Regions from separate parts of the Homo sapiens genome. Here region 1 is linked to region 2. Evidence: promoter capture Hi-C in 16 types of primary human blood cells and fetal thymus (Javierre and others, 2016). All regions are on one chromosome and are shown on one strand. Each heading gives the region's core, a stretch centred on a gene start or on the middle of the fragment in contact. The rest is flanking DNA. Distances are from core to core; before and after follow the strand shown. Region 1 overlaps TMC7 (transmembrane channel like 7). Region 2 holds the start of CEP20 (centrosomal protein 20).

The links. The method cuts DNA at HindIII sites, captures the fragments that hold promoters and counts their contacts. A CHiCAGO score of 5 or more calls a contact.
Region 1: a fragment that was not itself captured here is called in contact with the fragment with the promoter of CEP20 in region 2 in 1 of 17 cell types (fetal thymus); the score reaches 9.6 in fetal thymus.

Annotation. Positions count from the first base shown.
Region 1 is chr16:19,058,883-19,061,582 of GRCh38, forward strand. It overlaps TMC7 (transmembrane channel like 7), which reads left to right. Exons shown (of 16, transcript NM_024847.4): 15 at 534-612. Among named protein-coding and RNA genes, the nearest start is that of COQ7, 7.4 kb to the right of the region's middle. The HindIII fragment of the contact is 3,685 bases long and covers 1-2,700 here.
Region 2 is chr16:15,887,212-15,889,911 of GRCh38, forward strand. CEP20 (centrosomal protein 20) reads right to left here and starts at 1,392. Exons shown (of 5, transcript NM_144600.4): 1 at 1,347-1,392. The coding sequence starts at 1,374. The HindIII fragment of the contact is 7,894 bases long and covers 1-2,700 here.

The DNA.
Region 1 (2,700 bases), core at 135-2,634, 3.2 Mb after region 2:
TTTTCCTTTTTTTTAGACGGAGGCTTGCTCTGCCGCCCAGGCTGGAGTGCAGTGATGCGATCTCAGCTCACTGCAACCTTTGCCTCTTGGGTTCAAGGGATTCTCCTGTCTCAGCCTCCTGAGTAGCTGGGATTATAGGCGTCCACCACCACGCCCAGCTAACTTTTGTATTTTTAGTAGAGACGGGGTTTCACCATGTTGGTCAGGCTGGTCTCAAATTCCTGACCTCAGGTGATCCGCCTGCCTCGGCCTCCCAAAGTGCTGGGATTACAGGTGTGAGCCACTGCGCCCGGCCATATTTTATTTTTCTAGAGGTGGGGCTCTCCCTATGTTGCCTGGGCTGGTCTCAAACTCCCAGCCTTAAGTGATCCTTCTGCCTGGGCAAAGCACTGGTATTATAAAATGAGCCATCATGCCCAGCCTTCTTTTCTAACAAGAGTAAAACTGTTCCAAGGAAAAATATGTTGGGTTATTTTTCTATTGGCCTTCAGATGATCCAGACTCCCTTGTGACCTGTCTGTCTTGTGTTGCAGCCTCATCATGTTTTACTTCATTGCCTTAGCTGGAGCACACAAACGGGTGGTCATCCAGCTCCGAGAGCAGCTATCCCTGGTAAGGAAGCATAGCTCCAGAGGGTCATGGCTGGGGACATTTACCCAGGACACTGCAAGGAAAGTGCTGTTTTCCTGGGAGGGAGTGAAATTACTGCAGCCTTCTCTCACCACCACCTCCCCAAAACTCTGCCTTGAGGCCCAGCCGCGTCCAGCTTCATTAATTCACTGATTCATCCATTCCTTCAAGATGTGTATTAAGGGGGATGTGGTGGCTCATGCCTGTAATCCCAGCACTTTTGGGAGGCCGAGGCAGGCAGATTACTTGAGCTCAGGAGTTCAAGACCAGCCTGGCCAACATGGTGAAACCCCGTCTCTACTAAAAATACAAAAAGTAGTTGGGCGTGGTGGTGGGCACCTGTAATCCCAGCTACTTGGGAGGCTGAGGCAGGAGAATCCCTTGAACTCAGGAGGTGGAGGTCGCAGTGAGCTGAGATTGCGCTATTGCACTCCAGCCTGGGTGACAGAGTGAGACTCCATCTTAAAAATAAAAATAAAAAAAGATGTGTATTAAGTACCTACTCTGTGCCTTGTACTATGCTGGGTGCTGGGACGCTTTGGTGAACAAGAGACAAAGCTGCTGGGTAGTTAATAAGATAAATGCTGATTAATTATAGCTTCTATGAAGACAATAAAAACAAGGTAGAGTGACAAGCGGGCTATCAGTTACTGCAGATGCGGCTGTAGAAGGCTTCTTTGAGGAGGTGATTTTTTTTTATTTTTTTATTCAGGACGGGGTCTCACTCTCTCGCCCAGGCTGGAGTGCGATTGTGTGGTCATAGCTCACAGCAGCCTCAAACTCTTGGTCTCAAGCCATCCTCCCACCTTAGCCTCCCAAGTAGCTGGGACTACAGGCGTGCATCACCATGCCTGGCTAATTTTTAAATTTTTTATAGACATGAGGTCTCCCTATGTTGCCCAGGCTGGTCTTGAACTCCTGGGCTCAAGTGATTGTCCCCTCTCAGTTCCCCAAAGTGCTGGGATTACAGGCATGAGCCACTATGCCTGGACCCTAGCTGAGACTTGAATAATAGAGAGAGGAGCCCATTATCTGAGGTCCTATTTAAGGATGAAAGTAAGAGGCAAAGAGCACAGTAAAGAAATGAGCCAGGCACTTCAGGGGGACAGGAGGGAGGGGACAGTGTGGCCACAGGGTGGTGAGTGATGGGAAGAGGCAAGGTGATATTGTAATAGCAACCAGAGTCATCAAGTCACAGTGCCTTGAGGGCTCTGTTTAGAGTTTTATTCTGAGTGGGATGGGAAGCTGCTGAAGGGTTTGTAAGAGTCTACTGTGCATTTTTTTTTTTTTTTGAGACAGAGTCTTGCTCTGTCACCCAGTCTGGAGTGCAGTGCCGCAATTTCAGCTCACTGCAACCTCCACCTCCCGGGTTCAATTGATTCTCCTTCCTCAGCCTCCCAAGTAGCTGGGATTACAGGCACCCACCATCACAACCGGCTAACTTTTGTATTTTTAGTAGAGAAGGGGTTTCACCATGATGGCCAGTCTTTTTTTTTTTTTTTTTCCTTTGAGACAGGGTCTCACTCTGTCGCCCAGGCTGGAGTGCAGTGGTGTGATCTCAGTTCACTGCAACCTCCACCTCCTGGGTTCAAGCAATTCTCCTGCCTCAGCATCCCAAGTAGATGGGATTACAGGCACCTGCCACCACGCCCGGCTAATTTTTTGTATTTTTAGTAGAGACGGGGTTTCGGGGTTTCACCTTGTTGGCCAGGCTGGTCTCGAACTCCTGACCTCAGGTGGTCCACCTGCCTCGGCCTCCCAAAGTGCTGAGATTACAGGCGTGAGCCACCTCGCCTGGCCTAATTTTTGTATTTTTAGTAGAGGTGGGGTTTCACCACGTTGGTCAGGCTGGTCTGAAACTTCTGACCTCAGGTGATCCACCTGCCTTGGCCTCCCAAAGTGCTGGGATTACAGGTGTGAGCCACCTCACCCGGCCTAATTTTTGTATTTTTAGTAGAGATGGGGTTTTACTATATTGGTCAGGCTGGTCTCAAACTTCTGACCTCAGGTGATCCACCTGCCTCGGCCTCCCAAAGTGCTGGGATTACAGGCATGAGCCACCGTGTCCAG
Region 2 (2,700 bases), core at 142-2,641:
ATCCTCTGAAAATGTATGCAATATTACATGTGATGTGTATTTCCCTGGGAACAGCATCTGTAGACTCGTGAAGTCTGTTCTTGTGGACAGATGCATGCCTGTTCTGTTTTATGATTGTTCACCAGCCCTGTCCCCAAATACACACTTTTATACACGTCTCCTCCCTAAAATATCTAAGAATTACTAGTTTAAACCCTGGGTTCCCTGCAAAGTGGAACTGGTTTTATTTTTTGGACAGCAATCTTGCTCAGTGATTAAGACCTGGCGCTCCAGTGCGTCACAACTAGGTTCCCATGCTGTGTCTCTTTCCAGTGAAATCACTTTGAGCTATTTCACTTCTCAGTACCTCGTTTCCCAGTCTATGAAATGGGCATAGGGTTGTTACAATCAGGTAACACACAGGCTGAGTTGAGTAGTGCCTGACACATGAGGCTCAATGATAACTATTATTACTATTACTTGTCTGGACATTTGCTTCAAAGTAAACAGCGTACAAATGTCATTAATGACTCAAACATAACTAGCTTAGAGTATCTTTTCCTGAAAAGACAGGAGAATGGCCAGGCCAGCAAACTTTTTGCCTCTAGTTTCTTCTGATGAAAAAGGGGCCAGGCGCTCACACCTGTAATCCCAGCACTTTGAGGGGGCCAAGGCAGGAGGATAGCTTGAGACCAGGAGTTCGACAGTAAGACCCCGTGTCTACAAAAAATACAAAAATTAGCCGGGCGTAGTGAAGAGCCCCTGTATTCCCACCTGCTCTGGAAGCTGAGGTGGGAGGATAGCTGGAGTCCCGGAGTTCGAAGCTGCAGTGAGCTGTGATCGCGCTACTGCACTCCAGCCTGGGCGACAGAGAGACCCTCTCTTTAAAAAAAAAAAAAAAAAGCAAGGAGGGGAGGGCTACTTAACAGGTTGTTGTAAGGACCCAACGAGACAACCAAGCAAATTGTTTAGGGCAGTGCCTAACCCAATAGGGGTTGTGGGAATTGTAGTCATCAGCCCTGAGTGCCAAGCCTGGTCCAAGTCCTCCAGCCCCCGGCAGGGTCCAAGAAGATGAGCCAGGGGCCCAAGATGCAGGCCTGTAGGCCTCTTAGATGCCTGAAGATTACGCAACTCCTCCTTTAGCTCCAAACTGGCTTAAAACTCGCCAGTGGGCAACCTCTTCCCCATAAGAGCTCCCCGCGCACGGGCCAAGACAGCAGCCAGACGCTCCCCGCAGGCCCTCACACCGAAGAATGACGCCTGTAAAAGCCAACCCATGTGTTCCGCGCGCTCTCCTCCCATCCCATCCTTTCCACAAGATGAAGGCCCGACGCTTCCCATGTGGAGGCCTCCCTGCTCGCACTCACCAGCCTTCAACTCTGCCACAGTCGCCATTTTTCAACGGCCGCCAGGGCCGCACCGCGGCCCTGCGCACGCGCAGCTCCGCCCCACTCACCCTGCGGCGTGGTCTGTAGCCAATAGGCGCACAGCTCTCGCCCCGCCCACTTCCGCCCCTCTCAGTTTATGAGCTCTGCGGTTGAGTGGGTAGTGAATGTCGACCAGAGACTCCACCAATCAGCGAGCGCTCTCGGAAGGCCCAGTTGAGTGAGACGGCAGGGAGGGCGGGGACTGAGGCAGTGGAGAGCCCTGTGGGGTGCTGCTGGCACCTTAGTGCTTAACTTTAGCCAGCTGAGTTTTTCATTGTCTCTGCAGCCTCAAGTACCAACTGCTAGTAGTTACCACCTATTAACCCTGCGGTTCTCAAACTTGAGCATGAATCCTCATCACCTCCAAGACTTGTTTAAACGGATTGTTTGCTAGTCCTCCCCATAGAGTTTCTGATTCTGTAAATCTGGGGTGAGGCCCTAGGATTTGCATTTCTATCGAGTTCCCAGGTGGTACTGGTACTGCTGGTCGGTCTGGAGATCACACCTCGAGAACCACTGTATTAAGCACTTACTGTGACGCCTTAGCGCATTATTTCCTTATGATCACGCCGTTTTTACAATGAAGGAAACAGAGTCCTCCATCGCTGAAGAGACTTAACCAAGGTCACCAGCCTGTCCTCTTCCACTCGCACTTACACAGTGCATGTAAGGAGTCCAGGAGCTTTTTATGGAACTAACTAATGAAGGAATAAGCTCCAACATCCCATGGAAGTAAAGGAAAAGGAACAGGGGAATAATGTACCCTAAACTGAGTGTGAGGTTGCATGATTCCAGTTGTAATGCCGGTGAGATCCAAACACTTGGCTAAATAATAAACATCGATTAGACGTACACCTAAGAGTGGCCGGGCGCGGTGGCTCACGCCTGTAATCCCAGCACTTTGGGAGGCCGAGGCGGGCGGATCCCGAGGTCAGGAGATCGAGACCATCCTGGCTAACACGGTGAAACCCTGTCTCTACTAAAAATACAAAAAATTAGCCGGGCGTGCTGGCGGGCGCCTGTACTCCCAGCTACTCGGGAGGCTGAGGCAGGAGAATGGCGTGAACCCGGGAGGTGGAGCTTGCAGTGAGCCGAGATGGCACCACTGCACTCCAGCCTGGGCGACAGAGTGAGACTCCGTCTCAAAAAAAAAAAAAAAAAAGTACACCTAAGAGCTGCCAGGGCACGGTGGTTTACGCCTGGAATCCCAGCACTTTGGGAGACTGAGGTAAGGAGTTCGAGAACAGCCTGGCCAGCCTGGTGAAACCCCCTCTGTACTAAAAAAAAAGTACAA